Linked DNA regions of Homo sapiens: all the other regions are linked to region 4. Evidence: promoter capture Hi-C in human tissues and cell types (Jung and others, 2019). All regions are on one chromosome and are shown on one strand. The core of a region is centred on a gene start or on the middle of the fragment in contact, and the rest is flanking DNA. Distances in the headings are between cores, read along the strand shown.

Region 1 (4,077 bases), core at 667-3,166, 210 kb after region 4:
TGACCATCCATATGGGTAGCCAGAAATCCCACTGTTGAGAGGTATAATAAACAAAGGACTTTGTCCACAGAGAATTTAATCCTGCATATAAGTATCTTATGGGAAGTCCACTGCCAGTCCCTGGTTAAAGTAGTTAACCTAATGCCAGAAACTTAACAGTGGCAGCCAGGTGCTAATGATCTTCTAATAATTATATGATAATAAAGCTTATTCTTGCTATTCTGAGTTGGATGAGCAGTAAACTTAAGTCAATGTTATTTCTCATTTCAAGTTTTCTCACTCATAGCTTCTAGTCCTCTTTTCCAAAGGAAGATACTGTGACTTGTAGAATTGCTTCCCTGATTTTTTTGATGCATAGGCTAAAGGAAGTGGAAACTCTGTGTACAAAAGTGAAGATTTGCTGCACAATGAAGAGAATGACCCACAATTCCCTGAGCCGTATCAGTGATAAGTAGAGAGAAGCCATTTCTTCACTGAGCTGAGCATACCTAATGAGAAGTCATAAGTCAACAAGTATTATGCATACACTGTATGCGTCATGGGTAATGTAGCATAATTATATTCTAGTCTTTACCCTCAGAAAGCTTGAAAAGGCAAGTTTATTCCACATGAAACTGTCAGAGAATAGGAAGCAGTAAATAATGCATTATTACAGAGAAGTAAACAATGGCTAAGCATTCAATAGAAACTTAAGTGCTCACCGTCATATTTGGTAAGCTGTCAACTCAAGAGTTAAATGATGTACCCTGCATCACCACCCCACCCCCCGCCCAGCCGCACCAAGAAACTGACAAACTTAAAACTGCAGAAGTGGATCCTTTTTTTTCCTGTAATATGGTTTAGGGTGGATTTTGATTCTTATGTGGAGAGAACAGAGTCATAAATTTGGAGTTAAGCTTATCTGCTCATCTTGCTTTTTGCCCATTTTGCAGAATGAAGAATCCCCACCTGAGGGCCAAACTAGCAGAGGTGTTGGAAGCAGTGATGCCCCACCTGGATCAGACCCCAAATCCCTTGGTATCCAGTGTGTTCCACCGGAAACGTGTGTTCTGCAACTTTCAGTATGCACCCCAACTTGCAGAGGCTCTAATCAAGGTTTTTGTGGACATCGAATTTACAGGTAAAGCAGTCATGAAGCTGAGCCCAGAACTGGGAAGCTGATACCAGTGGAGTTTCATAGTTTGATCCGTATTTGGATATCAAAGAAATGTCAAGCCATTACTTATTGAATACCTACTATATGCCAGGCTTGATGATAAGTGCTTTTTTTTTTTTTTTAACATTATCCCATTGTCACCATTGGAAAAGTTTCACTCTATTATCCCTGTTTTATTTATTTTTTATTTTTTAATTATTCTTGTTTTACATATGAAGACATGACTGCCCAAAAGATCAGTTTGTCCATGTCATAACAAACTACCAAGTGGTAGAATCAGGTCTGTGTCACCTAAAGAAATCTACATATTCAACACCCTTATTATGTTGCATCATCAAATCAGACTCAAATTAGACTATTTGGGTCTTTATATTTCTCTGCCTTAAAATTACAGAATAGTGCATAAAGAGGCAGTGTATTGGTTGAGAGATTCTTTTATCTTAACCAGACTATCTAACTCTCCAACAGTCTAATGGTTCGATTAAAAATACCAGCAGGCGGACAGGCACAGTGGCTCATGCTTGTAATCCCAGCGTTTTGGGAGGCCAAAGTAGGCAGATCACTTGAGCTCCTGAGTTTGAGACCAGCCTGGCCAACATGGTGAAACCCATTCTCTACAAAAATACAAAAATTACCCAGGCATGGTGGCAGGTGCCTGTAATCCCAGCTACTTAGGAGGCAGAGGCACGAGAATTGCTTGAATTCGGGAGGCAGAGGTGGCAGTGAGCTGAGATCGCACCACTCCAGCCTGGATGACAGAGCAAGAAATCCCTCTCAAAAAAAAAAAAAAAAAAAAAAAACCAGCAGGCAACATTCCCTCTCTATCTAACCCTGAGCCCCTGTGTTTGTTTAAACAGTACCCTGTCTCAATCAGTAAATAAGATATGTTAAGAAGTTGTTGAAGACCATTTTTTAAAGGGATATCTACCATCCAATGATAAATACAACTAACATTTAAAGAGGCATTTAACATTTTACTGGCCGCCTTTCCATATTTGGATTCTGGTTTTTTTTAATTCGCTCACCTATCAACCTTAGTTTCCTCATCTATAAAATGGGTCAAAGTGATGATTAAGTGAAATAATGCATGTAAATCTTTATAATACATAAGAAATTGTATAATAAATCATTGCAGTTATCTCGTTATGTGACCATACAACCAAAGTGTTGTAATGGAGTACAATTTCTGTTTTATTTCTGAGGAAGTGGAAGCTGAAGAAGATTAAGAGACTTAGATTAAGCAGAGCCAGAATGAAAACGTAGGTCTTTTGACTCCAAATCCTACACTCTTCCTTTATTATGACCCAGCCTGTGGAGCTCTAGTAATACCTTTGGTATTTCAAAAGCAGTATAAGCCTCAGATTTTTAGCTCCTGACCTGATTTTTCAGAGTAATCAAGAACCTGTTGGCTACACAGTTTGGGATATTGTCTGTGAAGAATGTGGGAATTGCTTAGTGTCCCGTCCTGCACATGGCTTTCACTGCCATAATGGCCAGCCCTGAGCCCTCATTTAAAGCCTGAGAAGTACTCATGTTTGGATATGGAAACATTTGTTTCCCTTAACTTTTATTTTACAGCTTGGTACTTGTCTCTTGCAGAGTAAGGTATCCTTTATCTCTGTCTCCCCCTTACTTCATCAGTAAGGAAATGAGCAAACACTTGGCGATAACTCTAGGCCTTTAGAAACTCCAGGGCAGATTTTGTTAGTAGCCTTAACACACTCAAAAGCAAATGACTACAAAGCAAATGGCTACACATAAGCATAAACTCTTCCTCTTATGGCACCGCCTTTGCTGATATTTCGCTCTTGCCTTACTCCAGGAGACCCCCATCAATTTGAACAGAAGTTTAATTACCGCCGTCCCATGTATCCTATCCTAAGATACATGTGGGGGACAGATACCTATCGGGAGAGCATTAAGGTGAGAGAGTTTTTGATGAAACCTGTTGCTTTATATAAGCCCTAATGAGTTGTAATTCAGTACTAAAATGGTTTTCTTGTGGGCTGGGACTTACAGGATTTGGCTGACTATGCCTCTAAGAATTTAGAAGCCATGAATCCCCCACTTTTCCTCCGCTTTCTTAACCTGCTAATGAATGATGCCATCTTCCTTTTGGATGAAGCCATACAGGTAAAAAAAAAAAAAAAAAAAAAGATTTAACTTCTCCATACCATCAAATCATCAGCAGTACATACATTTTACCTTTTAATCATAATAGAGCAGTCCTTATGCCCCTAGTACCAGACTTGAACACCAAAAATTTGTGATTAGTAGTGTACCACCAAGCTTGTCATTATAGAGCTTTCTAGTTCATTCCATTAGAGACCAAGATCAAGGGTCATTGAAGCATCATGAGATGGACATTTTGGCAGAGTCAAAAATACCATATGGTGAAGCCAAACTAAGTTGTACTGGCAGGAGTAATTCATCAGGCCAGCACTACAGAAAGAAATCAGAGGAGCTTGCTTTTGGTCAGTGACTTTCAACCCTTTTAATCCCAACATGTCAGTAAAATATCTCACTAAGACAGTGATTTTTAACCCACTTTCCTAAAAGATTCTGATTTTTGCACCACTACTTGAAAGAAAATCTCTGATTTGGGTTATTTTTTCATATAAAGGCTCCAAGTTGTCAATACTTCTCATATTTCCACTGCCTTCTAAATTCTTAGCTATATGGTGAAACAAAGGTTTCACAAAGTATAAAATGCAGCTGGGTGCCTCTCAGCTCCTTCAGTGTATTATTTCCTTAACCTTCCCTGGTGGAACTGCTTACTTCTCCCATAAAAACTTGGCTGTCTGTAGAGCAAAACTTCCCTTACCTGTGATGGGTATAGGATGGACAAGGCACTGACCTAAAGGGAGATGAAGCAGGTAAATCCTGAGGGTAGCCTTTAGACAGTCATGAGCTCCTCCTTA
Region 2 (3,852 bases), core at 1,350-3,849, 130 kb after region 4:
CCAGGAGTTCGAGACCAGCCTGGCCAACATGGCGAAACCCCGTCTCTACTAAAAATACCAAAATCAGCCAGACATGGTGGTGTACGCCTGTAGTCCTAGCTACTCGAGAAGCTGAGGCAGGAGAATCGCTTGAACCTGGGAGGCAGAGGTTGTAGTGAGCCGAGATCACACCACTGCACTCTAGCCTGGGTGACACATCGAGACTGTCTCAAAAATAAAATAAAGACAACCATTATGCCAGCCTAGATTCCGCCATGCTGCCTAATTTGTAGTGTCCTTAGGAGCCATTTTTGTAAATAGTCATCAGATAAGATGTAAGGCCCATAACAGCTTTTTCTATGCAGCTGAGGGAATTGGAAGATCCATTGTTTCCTAAGAGTTGAGGGAAGAGTCCCAACCCACGGGAGCAGGGTCTGATCTTCATTGCCGATAGAAACATTACTAATGGCTTCTTACTGTTTCCTTTTCAGGTAATGAAGAAATGGGTAAGAAGATTTCCACTCTATCTAGCAAAAGTTTTCAAATATGGAATGAAATGCTCATAGAGTACAATCACAGTAACAAACCCTGAGAACTAAAACTATTAAAGGGAAAATACAAGTATCTTTCAATGGGATCCGTATGAAACTTGCCTGTATTTGTTGCTAGCTGTCATGTCAGATTATAGCTGTGCATATATGTATCTCTGATCATACACATATGGATGTGGGTTGGAGCTACCATGTGTTTTTGTATAAGCCATGAAATCTTTGAAGGCAGACAGAGACAGTGTCTCATTTACCTAGCCCAGTGTCTGGCACATAGTAGGTGCTCAATGAATATTTTTTGAATGAATAAATGAACAAACATATGAACACATTGCTAATTACCTCCCCTCAAGAAGCTGATGGTCTTGTGTGAGAGACAAATAATTGAAAATATAGTGAGTTGCATGTTATAATATGGGTAGATACAGAGTAAAATGAAGTATAAAGAGGGGAGTGGTCAACTCTACTGAGTGTCGTTGGGAAAGGTTCCCTGGGGGAGGTGGTCCTTGAGCTGAATTTTAAAGGATAAGCTTATGTTTTAGGGAAGAAAAATATTTTATGCAGAAGAGATAAAGCTGTATAGTATGAGGATAAGAGTCTAACTGAGCTAGATCAGAATGTTTGAATCTTGGCTCAACTCTCTACTTGCTGGGTGTGTTTGAGTAATTTACCTAACTTTTCTGTGCCACAGCATCATCATGGTACAATGGAAATAATAGTGCTACCTAACTTGTAGGGTTATTATGAGGACCAAATGAGTAATTCATTTAAGGCACTTAGAACATTATCTGACATAAAAGGCAGTAGGAGGGCCGGGCATGGTGGCTCACACCTGTAATCCCAGCACTTTGAGAAGCCGAGGTGGGAGGATCACCTGAGGTCAGGAGTTCGAGACCGGCCTGGCCAACATGGTGAAACTCCATCTCTGCTAAAAATACAAAAATTAGCCAGGCATGGTGGCAGGTGCCTGTAATCTCAGCTACTCAGGAGGCTGAGGTAGGAGAATTGCTTGAACCTGGGAGGCGGAGGTTGGAGTGAGCTGAGATTGTGCCATTGCACTCCAGCCTGGGCGACAGAGCAAGACTCTGTCTCAAAACAAACAAACAAACAAACAGACAGTAGGTGAATTTTAGCTATTAATACATGGAAAGCATGCTGACTATAGATGATAAGCATTAAAGTTTACTGAGCATGTATGTTTTAGGCATTGCTCTAAATATTTTACTTGAATTTCCTCATTTAATTCTTCCAACACCCCTACTGTACAGTTAAGGAAACAAAGCCTCAAATAAATACAGAAATAAACAAAAATAAGTAAACAATCCAGTCCTGGGGATATAAATGCAGATTTAGGCCAAGTGCCATGGTTCATGCCTATAATCCCAACACTTTGGGAGGCCAAGGCAGGAGGCTCGCTTGAGCTCAGAAGGTTGAGGCTGCATTGAGCAAAGATTGTGCCACTGTACTCGAGCCTCTGTGGCAGAGAAAGACCCTGTCTCTGAAAAAATTAATAAATAGAAATTTAAAAATAAAAAAATTTTAATGCAGATTTATATGATACCGAAGTTCATTTTCTCAACCATTATGAAATACTGTTTCTGGATATGTATAAAATCTTTGTGAGCACACATATCTTTTTTTAACTTAACTTTCATTTTAAATTCAGGGGTACATGTGCAGGTTTGTTATATAGGTAAACTTGTGCCATGGGGGTTTGTTGTATAGATTATTTCATCACCCAGGCATTAAGCCTGGTACCTGTTAGTTATTTTTCCTGATCCTCTCCCTCCTCCCACCCTCCACCTTCTGAGAGGTCCCAGTGTGTGTCATTTCCCTCTGTGTTCATGTGTTCTCATCATTTAGCTCCCACTTCTAAATGAGAACATGTGGTATTTGGTTTTCTGTCACTGTGTTAGTTTGCTAAAGATAATGGCCTCCAGTCCCATCCATGTTCCTGCAAAGGACGTGATCTCATTCTTTTTTATGGCTGCGTAGTATTCCATGGTGTATATGCAGCACATTTTTTTATCCAGTCTACCACTGACAGGCATTTAGGTTGATTCCATGTCTTTGCTATTGTGAATAGTGCACAATGAACATACGTGGAGCACATTTCTGTCTAAGCACAGACATCTAGACCCTTGTGTGAGCATGAGTTAAGTCTAAGCTCTGCTACTGAATTTGTGCCAATAAAAGTTGTGAGCAATTTTCTTTACATTTTTTTCAAACAAACACACCCAGCAGAGTATAATGTCTATGTACTTTATTTATGATTTCTAGTTCATTTAACATGTCTAAGAAACATCCGTGTTGAAAAATTATTTATAAATTAAAATAATATAAACTATCTACTGTCCTTATACTCAACTCCCAATTATAAGCAGGTGGAAAAACCTGGAGAATGTTTTGTTTACATTCTGTGCAGTCTTTGTCAGAGGGCTGCCTGAGCAACTGGGTCAGAGTTTAGTTCTGCTCTGGGAGTAGCAGGACCTCAAGAAGGAAAGGAGGAAAGGAAGTAACTTTTTCTTGAGCACCTGCTATGTGTCATTCACTTTCACCTTCATAATCCATTTAATTTTCGCAAAAACTTTGTGAGGTTGGTGTTTTATCTCCATTTCCCTGATAAAGAAGTTGAGGTTCAGCAAAGTTAAATGACTTGCCCTCAGTCACACAGACTAGGGCAGATCCAGGATTCAAACTCAGGGCTTCTGACTCTTGAGTCCAGAGCTCTGTCCCTGACAGCAGCAGCACTGCCTCTCCTCTCTTCCAGCTGTTATGTCCAGACTGTAGCAGAACCCAGTGTTCCAGCCACAAGTTTTCCAGGAAATAATAAAGGACTCCTAGCTCCACCTCCCAGGGCAAAAATGGCTGCTGTGGGAAACACAGGCTGGACCTACGAATGGCATTAGTGGTTTATTAGTTGATTTCAGTTGTCCACACTAATAGGCCTCCCTCTAACAAAAATAATTGAGAGCTGATTATGCTCAGATATAATGTAAAGTGAAGCCACTTTTTATTGGAAGAAGCATTCCCTCAAAACGTGTAGAGTATTTCACATTATTTAAAGGCAAATAGAGAGAAAATTATATGGAATAAGAACAAAGATGTTTCTTCTCTATTATGAGGGACTCAGTTCTGAGAAAGGATTTTAAATTGTAAGAAATAGGTAAGTCCACGAATCAGTGATTCAGTGGTGTGGAGAGCTTTATTTCTGAGAAGGCCAGTAGCGCTCCCTTCTGACAAGCAAATCTAAGACCTGGATGACAGATGACTTCCTGCATTTGGTTGGTTCTTTTGTCATTCATATCTATCTGTAATACAGTTC
Region 3 (3,823 bases), core at 467-2,966, 200 kb before region 4:
GTCTCGCTGGCTCAGGAGTGAAGCTGCAGAGCTTTGCGGAGAGTGTTACAGCTCTTAAGGCAGCGCATCTGGAGTTGTTCGTTCCTCCTGGTGGGCTTGTGGTCTCACTGGGCTCAGGAGTGAAGCTGCAGATCTTCGCGGTGTTACAGCTCATAAAAGCAGCGCGGACCCAAAGAGTCAGCAGTAGCAAGACTTATTGCAAAGAGCGAAAGAACAAAGCTTCCACAGGGTGGAAGGGGACCCGAGCGGGTTGCCAACGCTGGCTCGGGCAGCCTGCTTTTATTCTCTTATCTGGCCCCACCCACATCCTGCTGATGGGTAGAGCCAAGTGGCCTGTTTTGACAGGGTGCTGATTGGTAAATTTACAATCCCTGAGCTAGATACAAATGTTCTTCACGTCCCCATCAGATTAGTTAGATACAGAGTATGGACACAAAGGTTCTCCAAGGCCCCACCAGAGCAGCTAGATACAGAGTGTCGATTGGTGCACTCACAAACCTTGAGCTAAACACAGGGGTGCTGATTGGTGTGTTTACAAACCTTGAGCTAAACATAAAGACTCTCCGCGTCCCCACCAGACTCAGGAGCCCAGCTGGCTTCACCTAATGGATCCCGCACCGGGGCTTCAGGTGGAGCTGCCTGCCAGTCCTGCGCCGTGCGCTCGCATTCCTCAGCCCTTGGGTGGTCGATGGGACTGGGCGCCTTGGAGCAGGGGGTGGTGCTCCACGGGGAGGCTCGGGCCTCAGAGGAGCCCATGGAGTGGGTGGGTGGCTCAGGCATGGCGGGCTGCAGGTCCCGAGCCCTGCCCCGCGGGAAGGCAGCTAAGGCCCGGCAAGAAATCGAGCACAGCGCCGGTGGGCCGGCACTGCTGGGGGACCCAGTACACCCTCCGCAGCCACTGGCCCGGGTGCTAAGTCCCTCATTGCCCGGGGCCAGCAGGGCTGGCTGGCTGTTCCGAGTGCGGGGCCCGCCAAGCCCACGCCCACCCGGAACTCCAGCTGGCCCGCAAGCGCCGCACGCAGCCCCGGTTGCCGCTGGAGCCTCTCCCTCCACACCTCCCTGCAAGCTGAGGGAGTGGGCTCCAGCCTTGGCCAACCCAGAAAGGGGCTCCCACAGTGCAGTGGGGGGGCTGAAGGGCTCCTCAAATGCCGCCAAAGTGGGAGCCCAGGCAGGGGAGGTGCCGAGAGCAAGCGAGGGCTCTGAGGACTGCCAGCAGGCTGTCACCTCTCACTCTCACTTGAGAAGCCATTATCAGTTACCAGAACACTTTGTGTCTGGCTTTACAACAGCCCAGATTCCAATCTTGCCAACAGCTAATAGAGCCAAAGGGACCGGTTCCAGGGTGCACGACTGGTAGTGACCAAGCTGGGGCTAGAAGTAGGTCTGTTGGTTTTGAGGTAACCAGGCTCCTCCCACCTAAGGCAATGACCAAGAACAGTGTCCCAGGCAGATTATAGGAATGAGAAGGCTCTTAGCCCCAGCTCTGCTGATTTAAAGTAATTAGCATGGGCATTCCTTCACCTGGGAGATCAGTACTTCTTCCCCTTCCCCCTAAACTGATGGGCATGACAACCTCACGCAGTCTTCACAGTTCCACAAACTTAGCTGCTATGGTTTGAGAGCCAGAGAGTTGAGCTTCGATCTGGAGACCAAAGTTTTAATTCTGTCACTAACTAGTGAGTTACCCTGGCTACTCACCTTCATGCTCTAGATTTCCTCTTCTATTTAAAATGCAAATCTGCCATATCCCTCTCCTGCCTAAAACCCTTCACTGATGCCTTTCACCCACCCAGCTAAAGTTCTAGGAACTCCCCATTCAAGCCTGAGCCACCACACAGAGTCGAGAGGAATGTTGAGAATGGGGTTTTGTCCCTTCTGAGCTCTTTGGTGCTCCTCCAGGGGGGAGCCAGGGAGAAGGTGAAGGGATGTGGACACTCATTAGGTTTGGCAACTGGAGACTTCTCCCAGGGCCGTTGCTGGGGCTGGGCGAGCCCCTCACTGTGCATCTGCAATTCTCCTGGACCCAACAACTACCAAGTTTCCTACCCACACAGTTTCCTTCTCTGTGTCTCCTTCTTACGGTCAGTTCCCTCTGTGTCTCTCTCCTTGTTATGTGCAGCTCTGACACAGTGATCACAAGTCCTGGAACTTCCCTACTCACCAGTTGAGGGACAGAAACTGCAAGTTACGCTTGTTAGCACACTCAAGCACAGACTTCCTGCCAACTCAGATGCCCATCCGACTCCCCAGGCATGCCCATTTAACAGCATCATCCTGAGCACCAAGATAAAGTCAAATGAAAATGAGACAATGGAACCACCCAGAGCCCAAAATCTGCCCTCAAAATTTCCCAGGGTAACCCTAGGGGCCAGATGTTCACGCAGCAGGTTCCCTGGTTCCCTGGGCTAGCCACGTCCCTCTACCATCTACAAGACTCTCAGCCCTCAGCTGTTCCTCCTCTCTTGCCCTCCCCCTTGTCTTTTTCTCCAACCCCGTTCTCTCTTTCTCTCAATCACTTGACATTTGTCTCTTGCAAGAATTCTTCCAAGATTCAGAAGGGCACTGTTCACATGGTAGTAAAAGCATGAGCTCTGGAGTCAAACAGACCAGTTGAACAGGCTTCTAGCTCTGCTACGTACTGAGTGAATGACATGGGCAAGTGACTCAGTCTCTCACCTCATTTTCCCATCTGTAAAACACTGATAATGATGCTTATCTCACTGAGTGTTTATAAGGATTAAATGAAATAAGGTTTGCAGATTATTCAGGGTAGTTAACACTAGCTGCTATGAAAAAAACTTCACAAAATCTCAGTGGCTTGAGAGGGTTTACTCCTCACCCAATCAATAGGCTGATGCAAACTGGGTGTCTTTTCTGCACAGCTGCCCTCCAAGAGGTGATTCAGGGGCCCAAGCTCCCTCTATTCCCTTGGAGTCCTCCACTGGACACCTCCAGATGGCTGGCAGAATAGCAAAGACAGAGTTAGCAGCCAGGCCTGGAAGTGGCACCCATCAACTCAACTTTACAGTGCTTAAAAGCCAGCCACATATTCTACTTAACTGCAAGGGGGACTGGGAAATATAGTTGCCCCATGTGCCCAGGAAGAGGAACTGGTATTACTAAGCATCTGGCCATTCTCTGCCACAACATGTGAAGTATTTCACATAGTGCCCGATAGGTCATAAAAACTCAATAAATATTAATAGAAGATATGGCCAGGTGTGGTGGCTCACGCCTGTAATCCTAGCACTTTGGGAGGCTAAGGCAGGAGGATCGTTTGAGCCTAGGAGTTCCAAACCAGCCTGGGCAACATGGTGAAATGTCATCTCTACCAAAAAAAATAAAATAAAATAAATTACCTGGGCATGGTGGCCTGCACCTGTAGTCCCAGCTACTCAGGAGGCTGAGGTGGGAGGATCACTTGAGCCTGGGAAGTAGAGGCTGCAGTGAGCCAAGATCAAGCCACTGCACTCCAGCCTGGGTGACAGAGTGAAACCTTGTCTCAATAAATAAATAAATAAATAAAAATTAAGAAAAAATTTAAAAAGAGAAGATCCTTTAATGATTGCCTCCTATCATATGTCTCTCTACTGGTGTGAATACCAGAATACACAGAACTTTAGGGTGGACTTTTCAGAACACTGAAAACAAAACAAAATAAACATGTGGATTCCGTGTTTCTTTTTCTTCCTTTTCAAGTATAGTAATCACATGCCTGACGTAACTCCTATTCTGGGTGCTCTCCATGAGGCAGCAGGATACATTGGAATAGCCTGCATTCAAATCCTGGCTCTGCCCTGAGCTAGGTATTAACCTATGTTAG
Region 4 (3,964 bases), core at 672-3,171:
TCTTCCTCACCCTAGCCCAGAGCTCTGGGTCCTGGTCACTGAGCCCCCTTTCTATCTTTACTTAGCCATGGCTCTCACCAGGCGGCTTCTCTCCTGCACGAAGTGCTTCCTAACTCCTGAGGAAAGGGTCCTGTCCTCCAGCTGGGCCTCCTTACAACAGGCCACTCACCCAACTCCCCTTCTTTCAGCCTGTCCTGAGACTCTGATCAATTAGGTACTGTTAATATAGCAGTGCCATTTCTTGAACATTGGGGAGTGGAATCCAACGTTTAAGAGAATGTGCTGAAGTCAGACACAGGGAGTTCAAATTTCAGCTCCCGTTACCATAGTCATCTGTTTCCTCCCTGTAACCTGAGTATAATAGAATCTACCTCCGATTGCTGTGAGGGCTAAACAAGATACACAGTGCCTGGGCTCACGAAAAGCATTCTTATGTTAGCCATCGTTGAGTTCCTGCCATGCACCAAATCACAAACACGTCAGGCAGTAGGCATTCTTTAGTTTACCCGGGAGGGAACTGAAGCTCAGAGGGGTTGAGTAACTTGCCTGTGATCATTACGTAAATGACAAAGGTGGCTTGAAACCCAGGTCCTGCCAGAGATTCCATAGCATTCCTGCTCTGATGTTAATATGCCAAGTAACTCAGCAAAGCAGGCTGGCAGGGCCTCTGCACTGTCTGTGTTTAGCACTCCTACTCCAAACCCAGCACATCACACCACAGAAAGAGAGAGAGCCTTTGTGGTGGGGAATAGTTCCATCAACAGTCCTTGGACTTGACTCTCAGTTGCTGCTCCAGCAATAAGTAAGTTTAGGAGCAAGAATGAAACTCTACAAAGCAGGCTTGCAAATAACTTTCTAGCCCACTTCCCCACCAGGAAGTCTCTGAGTGGTCAAATACAAACACTTGACAGGACAGTCTGCAAGACTGGGCTGGGCAGTTCTGAGGCTGGATTTAAAGGGCTGCAACCTCGCTCAGCCTGTGGGTTCCATTTTTTTCCTGAATCTCTACACCTGGCCCTTCCTCCATTCCATCCGGCCCAAGCCAAAGGTGCCTTCTCCATCAGTGCGTGCCTCAGCAGGTCTCCTCCCAACCCAGACATCATTCCCCAAGCCCGCTTCCCACCTACTCCCACACACGTTCCAACAGATCAGTGAGACCGAGTGCCAAGAAGCCAGACCCAGACTCAACTTTCTGCCACCAGCTCCCCTGCACACTCTCCTAATACCCTAAATCCACCAGGATCAAGCTTCTGAAAAGAAGCCCCTTAAGGGAGCATTAAGTCCCAGGACCCCGCATTTGCAGCAACTCCAAAAAATAATCCCTGAAGAGACTGCAGGTCAATCCACTCTCTGCCCCACCGCCACGTAGGTCCACTTAGGGGAAATCCAGAGAAGATTCACCTCCCTTGACAATTGTCAGCCCCCAGCAACACTCAGATCCCCTGACCCAACATTTCTGTGACTAAGTAGTCCCAGGGTTCTGCACTCCCCAGCAACGTCCCTTCCAGTCCCCAGCACCTCCCCTCCCAAGGACACAGAGGGAAAGCGCTAGCAATGTCTTCTTTCCTATCCCCTGCCCCCATCCTCTTCACATTGCGGCTACACTTCTGAACCCTCGGGAGCATGCAGATGTGTCTAACTTACCCAAAGAGAAAAAGAGACTGAGCCCCGTGAGGCTGAAGGCAGGGCGAGGTAGCCAGGCATCTCTGTGCATTTTCAGAGACTGAGATGTTAGTCGGGTGGGCTACGGGAGAGGGTGATTTGAGGGGGCGAGAACTACAAGGGAGGAATGGTTGGATGCTAAAAAAAAATGCACGGATGTACTTCAAAGACATATACAACATTAAGGAAGCTTTATTTCCATCTCTCTAATATGGCCGGCTTGTATGTTGCTGCTAAAAAGAGAGAGAGAGGGAGTGTGTAAAGGAGAGAGAGAGAGATGGGGGGGAGAGAAAAGGGGGATGGGGTAAATATTGTGGTTGGTGGATTTCAAAAAGCAGGTGGGAGGGCATAAAAAAGTCATTTTGAAAAGAACAAAATCCCAGAAATTTTTACCCTCTAAAACAAGAAATAATACAAACCCTGCTTTTTGACTTCACTGGGATGATTGTTGGATTTTGAAAGCTATTAGAGGAATCCATTTATTTTAAAGATTCTGGAAAGGGAAACACCTTTTATCATTTAAAAACACCCCCAGGCTGACGCAGTGGCTCACACCTGTAATTCCAGCACTTTGGGAGGCCGGATGGATTGCTTGAGTCCAGGAGTTCAAGACCAGCCTGGGCAACATGGCAAAACCCATCTCTACTAAAAATACAAAATTTAGCCAGGCATAATGTCGCATGCCTCTTGTCCCAGCTACTGCACCGCACTCCAGCCTGGGCCCTGCCTCCAGAGGGAAAAAAAAAAAAAAAACCTAAAAAAAAAAAGGAGATGCTTGTTTTTGTGTTATTGAAAAGGGTTCAGGAAAGTGAGTTGGAGAGACTTTCAAGGGGTAATGCTTTCCTCATTCTAGCGTTTCCTCTGAAAACAGAACATGTTGAAGCAGGCTGATAGAAAAATACCCAAGAGATCTTACAATTGAATGTAACACAGGCCTTTGGATAAACCTGATTCAAACAAATCAACAGGAAAGAAAAGTTTTTGAGACAATTGGGAAAAGTTAAATATGAACTACATAGTAGATTGTATTAATGAATCATTCTTAATTTTGTTGGGTCTGATAAAATGTGGTTTTGTCCTTTAACATCTCTATCTGTTAAAGACACACATGGGTGGCCGGGCGGGGTGGCTCACACCTGTAATCCCAGCACTTTGGGAGGCCGAGGCAGGCAGATCACCTGAGGTCAGGAGTTCGAGACCAGCCTCCCTAACATGGTGAAACCCTGTCTCTACTAAAAATACAAAAGTTAGCCGGGTGTGGTGGCGTGTGCCTGTAATCCCAGCTACTTGGGGGGACTGAGGCAGGAGAATTGCTTGAACCTGGGAGGCGGAGGTTGCAGTGAGTCGAGATCACTCCGCTACATCCCAGCCTGGGCCACAGAGTGAGACTCCATCTCAAAAATACATATATATATATTCAACGAAAAAAAGAGATGGGAGAATAGGTGACACGAGACTAGTTGTTTTGCTTGATAATTGAAACTAGCTGGTGATGGGTGTAAAGGGTTTGTCATATAGTTCTCTCTTCTTTTGTGTATGTTTAAAACTTTTCTTTTGAAGAAGGAAGAAAAAATAAGCTAACGTCATAAGTAGGAGAACTTGGTGGGTGGAGTCCAAGGTGGTCCTAAGCAGAGGTGACCCCCATACTCCTGGGGAGATGGTTAAGTAGGGCAGAGATTCGCATGCAGCAGTCACCTGCATTTGTGATGGGCCCTTTGTGTACCAAACAGGGAGCAACTAATATTTTTGAGCATAAACTCTGTGCCAAGCACTTTACATGTGATATCTCAATTTTTTATTTTTTTATTTTATTATTTTTTTTTAGACAGGGTCTCGCTCTGTCACCCAGGCTGCAGTGCAGTGGTGCAATCTCAGCTCACTGCAATCTCTGCCTTCTGGGTTCAAGCAATTCCTGTGTCTCAGCCTCAAGAGTAGCTGGAACTACATGCACGTGCCACCACCCCCAGCTAATTTTTTTGTATTTTTAGTAGAGGCAGGGTTTCACCATGTTGGCCAGGCTGGTCTCGAACTCCTGACCTCAAGTGTTCCACCTGCATCAGCCTCCCAAAGTGCTGGGAGTACAAGCGTGAGCCACCATGCTCAGCCTGTGGTATCTCAGTTTAATCTTTTCTTTTTTTGTGTGTGAGATGGAGTCCCGCTCTCTCTCCCAGGCTGGAGTGCAGTGGCGCGATCTTGGCTCACTGCAACCTCCACCTCCCAGGTTCAAGCAATTCTCCTGCCTCAGCCTCCCAAGTAGCTGGGATTACAGATGCCTGCCACCATGCTTGGCTAATTTTTGTAT

The links. The method cuts DNA at HindIII sites, captures the fragments that hold promoters and counts their contacts. A contact is called where the count stands out against the background at its distance.
Region 1: a contact is called between a fragment that was not itself captured here and the fragment with the promoter of SCN2B in region 4, in 2 of the 25 tissues and cell types used here (bladder and dorsolateral prefrontal cortex).
Region 2: a contact is called between a fragment that was not itself captured here and the fragment with the promoter of SCN2B in region 4, in 1 of the 25 tissues and cell types used here (spleen).
Region 3: a contact is called between a fragment that was not itself captured here and the fragment with the promoter of SCN2B in region 4, in 1 of the 25 tissues and cell types used here (liver).

What each region holds. Positions count from the first base shown.
Region 1 is chr11:118,381,657-118,385,733 of GRCh38, forward strand. It overlaps UBE4A (ubiquitination factor E4A), which reads left to right. Exons shown (of 20, transcript NM_001204077.2): 13 at 933-1,120; 14 at 2,979-3,079; 15 at 3,176-3,289. The region is part of intron 3 of LOC100131626 (a long non-coding RNA gene); the gene reads right to left. Among named protein-coding and RNA genes, the nearest start is that of ATP5MG, 18 kb to the right of the region's middle. The HindIII fragment of the contact is 4,714 bases long and covers 1-4,077 here.
Region 2 is chr11:118,307,957-118,311,808 of GRCh38, forward strand. It overlaps CD3E (CD3 epsilon subunit of T-cell receptor complex), which reads left to right. Exons shown (of 9, transcript NM_000733.4): 4 at 471-485. Among named protein-coding and RNA genes, the nearest start is that of CD3E, 5.2 kb to the left of the region's middle. The HindIII fragment of the contact is 5,427 bases long and covers 1-3,852 here.
Region 3 is chr11:117,977,824-117,981,646 of GRCh38, forward strand. No RefSeq gene overlaps it. Among named protein-coding and RNA genes, the nearest start is that of IL10RA, 6.7 kb to the right of the region's middle. The HindIII fragment of the contact is 4,071 bases long and covers 1-3,752 here.
Region 4 is chr11:118,174,718-118,178,681 of GRCh38, forward strand. SCN2B (sodium voltage-gated channel beta subunit 2) reads right to left here and starts at 1,922. Exons shown (of 4, transcript NM_004588.5): 1 at 1,645-1,922. The coding sequence starts at 1,714. The HindIII fragment of the contact is 9,424 bases long and covers 1,550-3,964 here.